Linked DNA regions of Homo sapiens: region 1 is linked to region 2. The links are contacts of gene promoters, found by promoter capture Hi-C in blood cells and fetal thymus (Javierre and others, 2016). All regions are on one chromosome and are shown on one strand. The core of a region is centred on a gene start or on the middle of the fragment in contact, and the rest is flanking DNA. Distances in the headings are between cores, read along the strand shown.

What was found. Contacts are between HindIII fragments. The CHiCAGO score rates a contact against its expected background, and 5 or more counts as called.
Region 1: a contact is called between a fragment that was not itself captured here and the fragment with the promoter of TLR8 in region 2, in 1 of 17 cell types (monocytes). The highest score is 5.1, in monocytes.

Annotation. Positions count from the first base shown.
Region 1 is chrX:12,793,516-12,800,721 of GRCh38, reverse strand. It overlaps PRPS2 (phosphoribosyl pyrophosphate synthetase 2), which reads right to left. Exons shown (of 7, transcript NM_002765.5): 2 at 1,332-1,515. Among named protein-coding and RNA genes, the nearest start is that of PRPS2, 5.7 kb to the right of the region's middle. The HindIII fragment of the contact is 1,610 bases long and covers 4,953-6,562 here.
Region 2 is chrX:12,902,365-12,909,714 of GRCh38, reverse strand. TLR8 (toll like receptor 8) reads right to left here and starts at 3,095. Exons shown (of 2, transcript NM_138636.5): 1 at 3,006-3,095. The coding sequence starts at 3,008. TLR8-AS1 (TLR8 antisense RNA 1) reads left to right here. Exons shown (of 5, transcript NR_030727.1): 3 at 1,382-1,499; 4 at 3,464-3,525; 5 at 5,730-6,898. The HindIII fragment of the contact is 3,594 bases long and covers 2,980-6,573 here.

The DNA.
Region 1 (7,206 bases), core at 4,508-7,007, 110 kb after region 2:
TGTGCTGCTTCAGAAATCTGTGTTGTTTCAGAAATGAATTATGGAGATAAAAAGCAGCATATTGGGGAAAACCTTTCTTGCACTGAGTTACCAAATCACAGAACAGCAGTGTGTCTTGAAAACTGGCAGGATTCTCGCTGAGCCTGGCTGAACATCTATCTATCCATAAGATACGGAACACACAACAGCTGGGAGTTGACCACTGTAGTAGGTCAAACAATATCCCCCCAAAACTCATGTCCACCCACAACTTCAGCATGTGACCTCATTTTGGAAATAGGGTCTTTGCAAATATAACCAAGGTAAAGATTAAGTTGAGTTCATTCTGGATTAGGTTAGGCCTGAAATCCAATGACAGTGTCCTTATAAGAAACAGAGAAGAGACACAGGGAAGAGGCCAGGTGAAGAGAGAGGCAGGGACCAGAGTGATGTAGCCACAGCCAAGGAATGCAAGGAGACACCAGAAGTTGGAAGAAGCGAGGAAGCAGCCTCCCTTACAGCCTTCAGAGGGAGCGTGCCCCTGCCCATTCCTTGATTTCACACTTCTGGGCCTCCGAAACTGTGAGGGAAAAATTTCTGCTCTTTTAAGCCACGCGGTTTATGTAATTTCTTATGACAGCTTAGAAAACTAATACAATCTCCTTCAAAGTTCTTCTCAACCTCCGATTTCTCTGTTGCTCTGAAAGGCAAAGACCAACCACATTTTCTTCAATTTTTTTCTAAAGACTCACAGAGCCTCCTCTGATGCTAATGTTGTGAAAAACATAATTCAATGATACTATTTCTGTTCTTTTTAAAAGGTTAAAAAGAGATCATGGGTTTTTTTTTTAATTAAACTTTTTATTTCGGGGGAATTGTAGATAGACATGCAGTTGTATGAAACAACGCAGAGATCCTGTGAACCTTTTACCTAGTTCCCTGTGGTAACGTCTTGTGAAACTATAACACAGTATCACAGCCAGGACCCTGAAATTGATACAATCCAGTGATCTGATTCAGATGTGCTCTAGTTTGACTTGTACTCTTGTGCATGTATGTGTGTGTATTTAGTTCTATCCACCACCACAAAGACATACAATAATTTCATTATAACAAGGACAATAATGGTATTTTAATACCTGCAAAAATATGCATTACCTGTTTCTTTGAATATTAATGTCAGGGTAGGTTCAAAGCCAAATCTTCAACAAACAAAATAAGAAAGCATATTTACTTGATCATCAAAGGAAAAAGCCAACATTTTCCAGATAATTCTAATCAAGGGGATAAATGAGGAAAAACAACATTGACAGTGGCCCACAGCAGGTTTCTAGGGCACACACCTCTCCTACCTTGTCCTTTTTATCTTGTCGGGCGTATGGGAAACACGGGATCACGGCAGTTACTCTGGATGATGACGCAATCTTGCAGGCATTGATCATGATGAGGAGTTCCATCAGGTTGTCGTTAATTTCCCCGCAGCCGCTCTGGATGATGTAGACATCTTCCCCTCTCACGCTTTCACCAATCTCCACGCTAGGAAAAGAAAACTGCCATCGGTTAATATCGAAGCATATTTGCATCTTGGGCGTCCCTGAGACCACCCCTAGGTTTGATGATCACCAGGATGACTTATAGGACTCAGCCTAATAGTTGCACTCATGGCTGTAATTTATTGCAGAGAAAGGACACAGAGCAAACTCAGCAAAGGGAAAAAGGTGCATGGGGTGAAGTTGGGGGAAACAGGGTGCAAGCTTCCAAGACTCCTCCCTGAGGGGAGTCAGAGGTAGAGCTTAATGCCCCAGTAGTGAGCTGTGACAACACGTGTGAAGGGCTCTCTACCAGGGAAGCTGCTTAGAGACTCAAGTCCCAGGGTTTGTATTGTGGGCTGGTCATATAAGCACCCTCTGCCTAGCACGTACCAAAATGTCAGACTCACAGGCATTCAGCATGAACCACATTGTTTATCAATTGTTTAAGAGTTTATGCAGTGAGCCATCCTTACTGGGAAATGGTGGGTACCCTTGCAAAATGTAAGCTCCCAGAGGCCAGCCAAGGGCCAACCTTGCGAACAGGCCTAAGTCTCAGGCCTGCTAATGTTAACTCTTTTCTGCAAAATACTACATTTAGTTTTAGTTTTTTATTAAAGTTATACAGTCATATTGCTTAAAAAATTCAAACCATTCTGTAAGACGTATAACAGAGAAAGTGCCCAGAGGCCACCAATTTCAACTCTTGATAGGGTTTTTGGATACTTTCCTTCAAGTCTAGCTACTATGTGTGTATTGCTGTGTCTTGATTTTTCATTTTAGGCAAAGTGTATTGACTTCTCACTATGGAAGATGAGGACTGAACTCCATTTCCATTCAGTTCCATCACTTGCAATGTAAACTTCCCATCTCGCCATCATCCCAATATAGATCAATATTCACATTAAAGATTGACTGTACGTTTTTAACTGCGCAAATGCTGCTCAGAGCTCTGCCATGCAATTAACTTAAACGAATGCTTGTATTTTCTTTTTATGCACATCTTTTCTTTTTATTTTCCCTGGAGGTCATTCTCTTACCTTTTTATCTGCTAAGTTTTCTGAATCCTGAATCCAGATTCCACCCTAAACCCTTCACTAACAATCAAAATCTCCCAAGATCAGAGGCCTCAAGTCCCATCTGCATTTCATCGTCTTGCAGGCATCCCTCCCAGGGGTGGCAGGCCTGGGTTATCTCTCTGCCTGTGCACAGCTGCCATCCGGGGATTCCCTGCCCCCTCTCCTGCACTCCATTTGCCATTTTCTGTATCCTCTTTCTTGGTATACTTCCTTGTTTTGCTGGTTGGCATCCTTGCGTAGCTTCTGGAGAAAGAGTAAATAGCAGCTAAGTTTTTGAAAATTGCATGTCTGGAAGTTTCTGTATTTCCAGGTACAGAATTCTGGATGTCCAACATGAGAGGGAGAGCCAGCTCATCCCTGGCATATTCCTTTGGTGGGAAGAAACAGAAAATAGTGCTGTGTGCTCAGGCATGTCCTTCCCAGAGCTCTGCGTCCAAACCAAGAAGATGGTCAGCTCTGCTATGTTTTGAAAAGGCAAATTTGTTCCAATGATTGATATTATTTGGAACAATTTGAGCATAGCATGAATTTCATGTTTTCTTATGCACAACCTCTTATCCCGAGACTGCAGAAAACTGCAGTGTACCCAGCTGAATGGAGCCACTTAGAAATACACAAACATACACATGTACACACCTCGAGGACAATGAGCCACACTCATTCACATTTGGTGTCACAACTTTTCATGTCATTTCAGAGAACCCTAAACCTCAGGCATTTTTCAATGGAAAGTTCCATCTCTGTCATAATATTTATGTAATTTTTTTTTTTTTTTTAAAGACAGAGTCTCACTCTGTTGCCCAGGCTGGAGGGCAGTGGTGACATCTCAGCTCACTCCGACCTCTGCCACCCAGGTTCAAGTGATTATCCTGCCTCAGCCTCCCGAGTAGCTCGGATTACAGGCATGCACCACCACGCCTGGCTAATTTGTTGTATTTTTAGTGGAGGGAGGTTTTGCCATGTTGGCCAGGCTGGTTTTGAACTCCTGACCTCAAGTGATCCGCCCACCTCAGCCTCCCAAAGTGCTGGGATTACAGACGTGAGCCATTGCACCCAGCCAGTATTTTTTGAGCATGTAATACATGTCAGTGTTTTACCATTTTGATAGGAACCCTAATCCGAAATTCTGAAATCCGAAACTTTCTGAGTGTCGACATCATGCTCAAAGGAAATGGTCATTGGAGCATTGTGGATTTTGGATTTTTGGAGATTTGGAATGTCCAACCAGTAAGTACAATAGAAATATTCCAAAATGCAAAAAAAAAAAAAAAAAAAAAAAAAATCTGAAATACTTGTTGTCCCAGGCATTTCTGATAAGGGATGCTCAATCTATATAACATTCCTATGATTTTTTAATGGGTCACTGAGGAAGTTTTTGAATGTTATGTCCCTAACCCCATTTTTCTCATAAGCCCTGTGGTTTTGGATTGCCTGATTTTGCATAGCGTGGTAATTTTTAGGAATACATATGTCACATTATGGCAGAATTGTCTGTAAATTTATTCATCCCAAAATGAAATATTTTAAAATTACAAATAAGGAACATGAATAATTATCCTTCTCTCTTCTCCTGCTATCAGATACTCAATGAAATTGTTTTCTTAAAAGAGCCAATTAAGGCTGGGCGCGGTGGCTCACGCCTGTAATCCCAGCACTTTGAGAGGCCAAGGTGGGCTGATCACCTGAGGTCTGGAGTTCTAGACCAGCCTAACATGGAGAAACCCCATCTCTACTAAAAAATACAAAATTAGCCAGGTGTGGTGGTGCATGCCTGTAATCCCAGCTACTCGGGAGGCTGAGGCAGGAGAATCACTTGAACCCGGGAGGCGGAGCTTGCAGTGAGCTGGGATCGCACCATTGCACTCCAGCCTGGGCAACAAAAGTGAAACTCTGTCTCAAAAAAAAAAAAAAAAAAAAAAAAGAGCCAATTATACCTAATGAAAATTTAAAAACAGGCTGGGCATGGTGGCTCATGCCCACAGTCCCAGCTACTTGGGAGACTGAGGCAAGGGGATTGTTTGAGCCCAGGAGTTCTAGTCCAGCCTGGGCAACATAGCAAGACCCCGTCTCTAAAAAAAATTTTAAAGAAAAGGAAAATAAAAATAAAGTTTTTCAAGTTGACATGTTGTGAAAATTAGTTTTGATAACATTCACACATCTTCTTGCACGCCTTCTACTATGGATGAAAATATGCCAACCTCACAGGATGAGGGGGATAGAAAGAGTTCTATGTGCTCCCTCCTATTTGAAGATCTAAGGAGCTAAATCTAACTGCTTTGTGAACACTACATCAACTATGACATAAACTTAATTTGGAAATTGCTATGGTTTAAATGTGTTCCCTAAAGTTCATGTGTTGAAAGCTTAATCCCCAGTATAGGAGTATTGACAGGTGAGACCTTTAAGAGGTGATTAGGTCATAAGGGCTCTGTCCTCACAAACGGATTAACGTCATCATTGCTAGAGTGTGCTCATTATCTTGAGAATGGGTTTATTATATTAGCAAATTTGGCCCTCTATTGCTCTCTCTCAAATATGCTCTCTTGCCCTTCCACCCTTCTGCCATGGGATGATGCAGCAAGAAAGCCCTTGCCAGATGCCAGCCCCTCAGTATTGGACTTCCCAGCCTCCAGACCTGTGAGAAACAAATTTCTATTGTTTATAAATTAGCCAGTCTCTGGTATTCTGTTATAGCAGCACAAAATGAACTACAGCAGAAATCAAGTACAGTATTATATAGCTGAGAGGTTGACAAAACACAGCACATAGGCTGTTTTTCTATGGCCTGTGAGTTAAGAATGGCGTGGTAGGCAGAATAATGGCCCCCTAAAGATGTCTACATCCTAATCCTTTGAATATGTGAGTTTATATGGCAAAGGGGAAGTAAATTTGCAGATAGCATTCAGGTTGCTCATCAGCTGACCTTAACATGGGGAAATTATCCTGGATTATTTAAATTGGCCCATTGTAATCATGGGGCCCTTAAAAATGCAAGAGGGAGACAGCAGAAGCAGGGTCAGAGCAACATTTTGTTGCTGACATTGAAGGTGAAGAGGCCAATAGTGAAGGAATGTGGGCTGCCTCTGGAAACCGGAAAAGGCACGGGAACAGATTCTCCCCTAGAGCCTCAGAAGAGAATACAGCCCTGCTAACCTGTGACAGACATTACCGTAACTTACAGAACTGTAAGATACCGCAGCAACAGAGACTACATGTGCTAGCACTGCCTAAAATATTTACGATTTGGCCCTTTGCAGAAAAACTTTGCCAACTCCTGGTCTTATGACGTTTATCCCACAAGATTAGATTCTTTGGCCTGTTTTTACTCAGGAACCTCAGTTCTCATATGACTAGCAGTCCAGGGGAGGACAGAGAATATCATCACCATGGCAACTTTTCCCCTAAAGCTAGTCCTGCTTCTACTCAAAAAGATGATCATGACTACCTTTATTCTAGGTCTTTAAAAAATTGTGGCTAGAAGGCAGCATCCATTTGCCATTCTGCCAGAGGATCTTTATTGACCCCCAAATAAAAACGCTGAAGAGCGTCACTGACTCAACAATAAACGGGCATGGTAACTAAAAGATAGCCACAGACTCTTAACACATTTCCCATCAAGGAGCAGGGTCTAGTCTCCCGCCCTTGAATCTGAGAGGGCTCTGTACTTGCCCAACAGCATATGACAGAAATTATGATACACCAACTTGCAAGCCCAGTCCTTAATGGACTGGTGGCTTCAATGTCCTGTCTTTTGGAACATGTGCTCTTAGAACCCAGCTTCCATGCTGTAAGGAAGCTCAAGCAGCCCCATGGAGAGGCCTACAAGAAGAGGAGCTGAGGTTCCTAACCAAGCTCCCAGGCAAAAGCTAGTAACAACTTCAGTCATGTGAGCCATCTTCAAGAACCCTCCAGCCCCAGTTAGCCGCCTCAGCTGTGACCAGCCTCAGCTGTGACCATACGCGGCAAAAACAAGCTTTCTTCACTGAGCCCTTCCCAAATTGCAGATTTGTAAGCCAAATCAACAATTACTGTTTTAAGCCATTAAGCTCTTTATTTATTACATGGTAACCGATAACCTTGTATAACTTTGCATAACCTTGTCTCACAGTATAGCTAAAGATTCTGCCAGCAGGTTAACTGACCATAGTAAAATGTTACAACAGAGACATCTAGACACCTGCTGTCCTAAGATGTCATCATGGAATTTCCATGGTCTATAGTGAAGCTGGAGCGGACCTCTCCCTGCATATCTGAAATGATTTAGGGATAAGAAGGTAAAATTGGAAGGCTCTATGTTCAGTAAAGTAGCATATAAAAAACGCAAAATGGGAGGATTGATGGCCAGGAGACAGCAAACCAGATTTCTGATCCTAGTTCAGTGACAGATTCAAGAAGGGGCCCTTACATGAACTGAATCAATTTTGTCTTCATTTTGCCCTTCAGTTTTTCCTCTCTACGATTACACAGCTAAAAGCTGGATTCCTAGCACAGTAACTGGTCCAGAGAGGGCTGTTTATAAAAATTAAGCTCTGTACTTGTACAGTTCATGGAAAAGAGAAAAGTCAGGCAGTGAACCTTTTATACTCTATACATTAAAAACATAAAATGTAGCTATATAG
Region 2 (7,350 bases), core at 1,846-4,345:
GCTGAAGCCAAGGGGCTAGTTGGCCATGATCTGGTTTCAGTGATCAGCAGAGACCTGATAGCCCTATGTGGAACCTCCAAGACTCAAATGCTGGTGGCGGATTTTCCACGTTCCCTTTCTGCACTGAGCAGGCTACCACAGAGAACTTCCAGATTCTTTGTCATTCCTTAGAACCACAGGAAATCTACTGATTTTAGACATACACACCAACTAGCAGCTCTTTGTAACTTTCTGCAAAATCAACACAGCCTGTATCTGCTAATGCCAATCCAGAACCACAGGTTATGTATTTATATTACTGTGTCTTATAGCAGGGGTGTCCAATCTTTCAGCTTCTCTGGGCCACACTGGAAGAAGAAGAATTGTCTTGGGCCACACATAAAATACACTAACACTAACAGTAGCTGATGGGCTAAAAAACAAATGCATAATATTTTCAGAAAGTTTATGAATTTGTCTTGGGCTGCATTCAAAGCTGTCCTCGGCCATATGCAGCCCGCAGGCCGAGGGTTGGACAGGCTTGTCCTATGGTCTTGAGTAGTCCTAAATTGGGGCTACTAATTTAAAAATAACAAATCCCTCAACCCCATTTAATAACCCAGATGAACTCAGAGATGTTGCATTGGAATGACGTTCCCCTCAATGGAACCTGGAGGCGACACTATGATGCACTTACAAATAATGTCCAACTGCGTTTCAAAGACTAACTGTGGGTAATGACATCCTTCCCTGTGAAACACACCCTAATATTCTGTGAGTCTGGGGTCTTCCATAAGACTGCTTTCTCTTTCATAATCTCTGAGATTCTTAGATTATTATAATGAAAGGATGAGAAGCAGTGATTGAAAGAGGAGAATGAACTCCATCAACTGCCCTCACTCTTATCTGCAGTCTCAGCTTTTCAGAGAAAGCATACTTAGAACTTCTATTTTGCTTTCTAAAATCAAACCAAGGTGGCTGGTAAATACATTTCAGCTCTTCCTGGAGCATTTCTAGCCACCTAAAAAAACGGACTGTGCTTTTTAACAAAAGGACCAAAAAACTGTTGATGTTCTAAGGCACTGATTCTTAACTTTGGCTGCACAGTAGAGATACTTAGGAACTCTAAAAGCTACAAATGCCAAGCCCTGTATCCAGAGATTTTGGTTTCATTGATCTGGGGTTCAGTCTGGGCAGCAGGAGTTTTGAAAGCTCCCCCTCTGATTTGAGTCCATTGCGAAGGCTAACAACCTCTGCCTTTAGGCAGGAGGTCAGCCAGGTCCTTGACCTCCATTGGCCACCAGTGGGAGCAAAGTGGCCATTTTTTGCAAGTTTAATTTGATTTTATTATTACTCTATTTACCAATCTGTTGTTGTTGTTGTTGTTGTTGTTTTGAAACAGAGTCTTACTCCGTTGCCCAGGCTGGAGTACAATGGTGCGATCTTTGCTCACTGCAACATCCACCTCATGGGCTCAAGCGATTCTCCTGCCTCAGCCTCCTGAGTAGCTGGGACTACAGGTGCGTACCACCACACCTGGCTAATTTTTGTATTTTTAGTAGAGACGAGGTTTTGCCGTGTTGACCGGGCTGGTCTCTACCTACTGACCTCAAGTGATCCGCCCACGTCGGCTTCCCAAAGTGCTGGGATTATAGGCGTGAGCCACCGGGCCCCGGCTATTTACCACATTCTTACAGTACAATTATACTGGCTATCACAGCAGCTTACAAATATCAAGTAGGAATTGGATAATTTCAACTGCAATCCCATATGTGTCATTGGCCCAGTTGACCGAATTCCATATGGGCCACCTACAGTCATTTTGTAAAGCATTGTAAAATTTTAGTGCAGAATTAATTTACCTTCAAGATCCATAATGAACATTAGGTGGGTATAAAAATTAACTTCAGGCCGGGCGCGGTGGCTCATGCCTGTAATCCCAGCACTTTGGGAGGCTGAGACAGGCGGATCACCTGAGGTCAGGAGTTCGAGACCAGCCTGGCCAACATGGAGAAACCCCGTCTCTACTAAAAATACAAAAATTAGCCAGGCGTGGTGGCACACACCTGTAGTCCCAGCTACTTGGGAGGTTGAGGCAGGAGAATCGCTTGAACCCGGGAGGCGGAGGTTGCAGTGAGCTGAGATCACGCCACTGCACTCCAACCTGGGTGGCAGACCCATTAACTTCAAAAGACTTAAGTGTACTTTAAATTGTTGTCAAAATTAACTCCAAGGACTTTGGGGAAAAATATATAGTACATTTTGGATGAGACTCTCTTGAAATCAGACTTTTCAATTGCTCTTAAACCTCATTGAATTTTCTAGAAAATGTATCATTTAAAAAGAAGTGTAAAGTTCATTTTTAGTCTGACAGTTCTTGACAATAACAAAAACGGACCACCTGCTATGTCTTGACAGTGTAAAATAATAATTACAGAAATTGTAGCATGTTATTAGGTTGGTGGAAAAGTAATCACAGTTTTTTGTACCAACCTAATTATTTAAAACTCTGACCAAGAAAAGTAGCAATTAATGTCGAACTTTAAGCCTCCAACAGTAGGTTAAGCTCAGGCTTCACTAGGATCTAGCAATTGACCTATGTATGTGAAGGAAGAGAGTTTGTCCTTTTCTACAGAAATAGCAAAGGAAGAATATTTCCCTCACCTTCTCTTCCAACCCTGTTGTTCTGGAAGAGGATATTGTCTCTGGTAGGGCCAGTAAGTAATATTTCCAGTTCAATTTCTAACTTGAAATTTTCTTATTTTCCTGTCCAAATTAGTAAGATCATCACTGCATTTGATTTTCAAAATTTACTCTCTAATTCCTTTATACTAACGTGTGCACAAATTAAAGATCATAGCAAGCCGCTTTACCTGCATTTACAGTTGTTTCGATCTTTAATTTTTATCCTTATTTGCCCATTTATTACTTTCTAGGCTCACACCATTTGCCACCAACCCAGATTTCTGGGTCAGAAACCCCATATTCTGTTGGAAAGCTTTGCTAAAGAAATAGAAGTGGCTTACCATGTTTCTGTTGTTCTAATTTTTCATTCCGTAACTTGCAGCAGCGCAGAATGGTACCCTCTATGCAGGAGGTGGCCGAGAAGAGAAACTGGCTAACTTCCTGAAATGGCTCTATTTACCATCAGCAGAACGTAGCGTGTGTTTTACAGAAGTTTACATGAAAAGAAGGGAACTTGTGATTTCTTAGCTGTTGCCAAATCATTAATTGACTGTGCTTTAAAACTTTGAAACTGAAGTTATGGGAAAAAGTCATTTATGAAATGATTTAAATACAACCCAAATCAGACACACACGACGTATTTTTGTTAGTTTTTGTGTATTTGTGTGTACAGGGGAGAAAAAGGGAACATTATTCCATTCACTAAGAAAACTTCAGTGTATTCTTTTTTAAAAAAGTTACCATAAATTTGTACTGAACTTCGGATTTCTCAAACTCGTCTTCCTTGTGTAATTCACAGATGTAGGCGAATAACATGAACATTGCTTCATCTTTGTTCCACAAGTTTCTGAGACAGCACCGGTAGGTATGGGTCTCCCTCCCACTGGGCTGTGGCCGCAAAGCGAGCATCTTTCTCCTGGGCGCCCCATGCCTCCTCCAGCACCTGGCATGTAGTATAAGCTCAATGAGTGTTCATTGTATGAACGAGTGAGTCAATGGCTGAGCATTCGTGAGGCTGGAAAATTTAATCTTCCCGATTTAGTCTGATAAATGGATTCCATTTTATGCTCGGAGAGCAAGGGCCTCAAAAGGTGTAACCAAGAGCAGAGGTCAGCAAACTGCAGCCTTTGAACGAAATCCGGCCCAGAAGTGAAAACATTTTTAGATGAACATTGGCAATGGATTTGCTGATACAGAACACTAACTTTAAATTCCAACCAAGCAGAATGTTAGCACCTCCAAAAATGATTCCATTCTTCTCATTATTAAACCTATACTACAAAAAAACTGCCTTCGATTATTATTATTACATTTTGAGTTTCATCAATTACATAATTGTGGAAATTTTTATTTTACTATATAAGTAGCTACATAATATGCCAAATTTGCTTCTTGGCCTGTAAAACCTAAGATATTTGCCATCTGGCCCTTTACAGAAAAAGTTTGCTGACCCCTGGCCACAAGAATAAAGTTTAGAACGGGATGTGATATGTTTCATCTTGCCTTACACCCCAGGAGTGGGAGAAAACCAAATTGGCAGCAGGGTGGGCAGAGATGACATCCATATATAAATGGACTGTGGAACACCTTGTTATGAAGGAAGGCCTGTCAGCAGTCAAAGAATGGCTTGGGTGGGTATACCTAGATGGACCTCTAAAGATCACACCCTAAGGGAATTCAAGACCTGGTGCATGGTTTGAGAGGTGATTCCTGTGACATCAGAGAGTGCAGCCTGGGCCTTCATGGGCAAACCAAAAACATTTGTGATTGTAAACCCAAAGGCCTCGGCTGGCCGCATCCAAGTCTCTTGGTTTCCCTCCAAACATTTGCTTGGAAATAAAGTAAAGAAAGTAAGTAAGAATGGATCGAGTGCAGTGGCTCACACCTGTAATTCCAGCACTTTGTAGAGGCCGAGGCAGGAGGATCACTTGTGCTCAGGGGTTTGAGACCAACCCGGGCAACATGGCAAAACCTTGTCTCTAAAAAAATACAAAAATTAGCCAGGCATGGTGGTGTGCACCTGTAGTCCCAGTTACTCGGGTGGCTGAGGTGGGAGGATCGCTTGAGCCCAGGAGGTGGAGATTGCAGTGAGCCATGATAGTGCCACTGCACTCTAGCCTGGGTGACAGAATGAGACTTTGTCTAAAAAAACAAACAAACAAACAAACAAAAAACAGCGAAGTAAAAATGACTTCCAGCCGTTGACTGAGCAAGGATCCTTGGAACTGGAGAGTTTGTCAGCTTTCTAGAAAAGCGAGACTCACATACCCTGGCTTCTAGGCCACCAAGTGTCAGCCAATTGTAGACCAGTCAATTGGCCTTGTAAAGCATGCTTGTATACGTATATATATATATGTGTGTGTGTGTGTGTGTGTGTGTGTGTGTGTATCATCATGTATATATGATATATATATATTTTTTATGTACATATGCATGTTTATATGTATATATACACACATACAGTCTAGTATCTATGTCAAGCAAACTCATAAAAATGAGTTACTTACTTATACCAAATGAGCCTTCAGTTTTCTCCACACAACCAGTACCATAAAAGATGAAAATGAAAATGGAATTGACACCAGGGCAGGAAGGTTACTGAGAGGAAGAAGCTCCATCTGCTTGTAAAGTAGCCAGATGATTGGCTTCTGCCCAAGCCCAGAAACTGGTCCTTGGTGGCCAGGTCTGCTCTCCCCACCCTGCACTGTGAGGCCAAAAGCTCCTGGGCATCTCCTAGACCAATCTTTCCTTACTCTTCCCCTTGCCATCCATGCTGACACAGATCTTGATTCCAAAATGGAGAAGACCTGTCATGAACCGCTTCTGCCAGGCAAGCCTGCCAGACAACGTGCACTTCCCAGACACACAAATCACCAGCAGACAAGCCTCTCTGAGCCTTAGTTTTCTCATCTGTCAAATTGGGATAAGAATAGTAGTATCTTTCTCAGATGTTGGCTTTGAGGATTAAATTGTTCATATCGTGGAACTCTTAGAAAAGTAGCTGGCACAAAGTGAGCGTTCAACTAGCAGAGCTGGAATTATTATTACTACGCTTGTTGTTACAGACTTCACACATTCCTGGGCTGTTGCCAACAGTAGGCCTGAAGAACCACTCTTGGGGCCTTCCCCAGCCCTGGACACAGCCCTTTCCTCTCGAGTGGATGACCAGACAATTCATAAGGCAGCAAATGGCTTCCCCATACTGGGGCTGCCGCGAAGTACCACATATGGAAATAACGTGCAACCCTGGAAAAAGCTCAAGGTCTGGGAAAACACCAAGTGCCTGGAATCAGTTGTTTGTTGTGAAATCAATGCTAAATATATACAAAGCTAAAGTGAAAGGACTTACGTGGAAGAAACTTTTAAGTCAACGATTCAGATGAAGAAATGCACAAGAGGCTTCCTTTACACAAATCTCTTGTGATCCTGGTTTTAAGTGGGGGTGCAGAGCTCCTGAGAGGACAGCTACTGTGCGTCCATGTTTAGGAGCCACGCTGCAGCTTCCCTTGGCCCCTTTAAGCGGCTGCCCTTCCCTGGCCAGGGAAGACACGGGTGAGATAGGCCACAGGTGTTTCCTGAAACTGTCTCCTCCTGCCTCCACTTGACCTTAGCTTTGCAAATCCTGGGCGCTTTGTGGTCACCTCTGGGATGCAACTTGTTGGTGTCACGCCCACTTTGCCAGGTCCTGCCGGCAGATATGGGCTGCTTGTTTTCTTTGTCCCCAAGTCCCCACGTGCCTCCTGATGGTCTGTGGCCCAGATGGGATGGAGTCCTCTGCACCAACACCTACTTAAGGCGCTACCCACCCACCACTCCTGTTCTCTCTGCTTGTTACTATAATCCCCATTTTCAGAGGAGGAAACAGGCTCATAAAGGCTCAGTCATTTACCCAAATTCAGCAGCAAAGCTTGGATCTGAACGGAAAGCTCTGTCGTACTTGCCACTTTCTCTGCTGGATGACATTTTGGTGGCTCCGTGTTACATTCACCAGACTGTACAAGTTTTGAGCCCAAGGGCTGTTGTATCCATCCAGCCTGGTCTTACACATGGATGTTGGTGAAAATGGATGGGGACGAATGGATGGATGGATGGATGGATGTTGGTGAAAATTAAAGGGAAACAGAGGATGATATTGATAGAATTAAGGGAAGTTTCTTTTGTATATAAAATTTTTCTGAGTATAATGTTATTACATGGTCCTAAATATCCCAATAAAGGAATGTAGAACACATCAGATGAAAGCTCTCCAAATTCCACTCCTCAGAGTTGACCATTGTTAATGGTTTGGTATATGTTCTTCAAGATTTTTCCTATGTATATACTGACATATAATTACGTACAGAATTCTTTTTGAAAACTGAGTTCACATGATACGTGCTATTCTGCATCATTTTTTTTTTCCAGCTAGCATTCTGGTTTGGATATGCAGATCTGTCTTGTTCTTTTTTTTCAGTGGCTGTGTTCTGTAGCCGGTTATGCATGTGGTATTTTGCTTAATGAATCCTCTATTGATTGGCATTTGTGCTTGTCCTAATTTTTTGAAATTACAAACAATGCTGCGACAAACATCTTTGGAGGGAAGATAATTTTAAAAGAAGTGTGTTCAAGTGAGGAGGAAAAGCCGGCAGGATGGAGAAGAGTGGTCACATGTGCAACGGACAGAGTCAACCTCATGGAGCCGCTTTC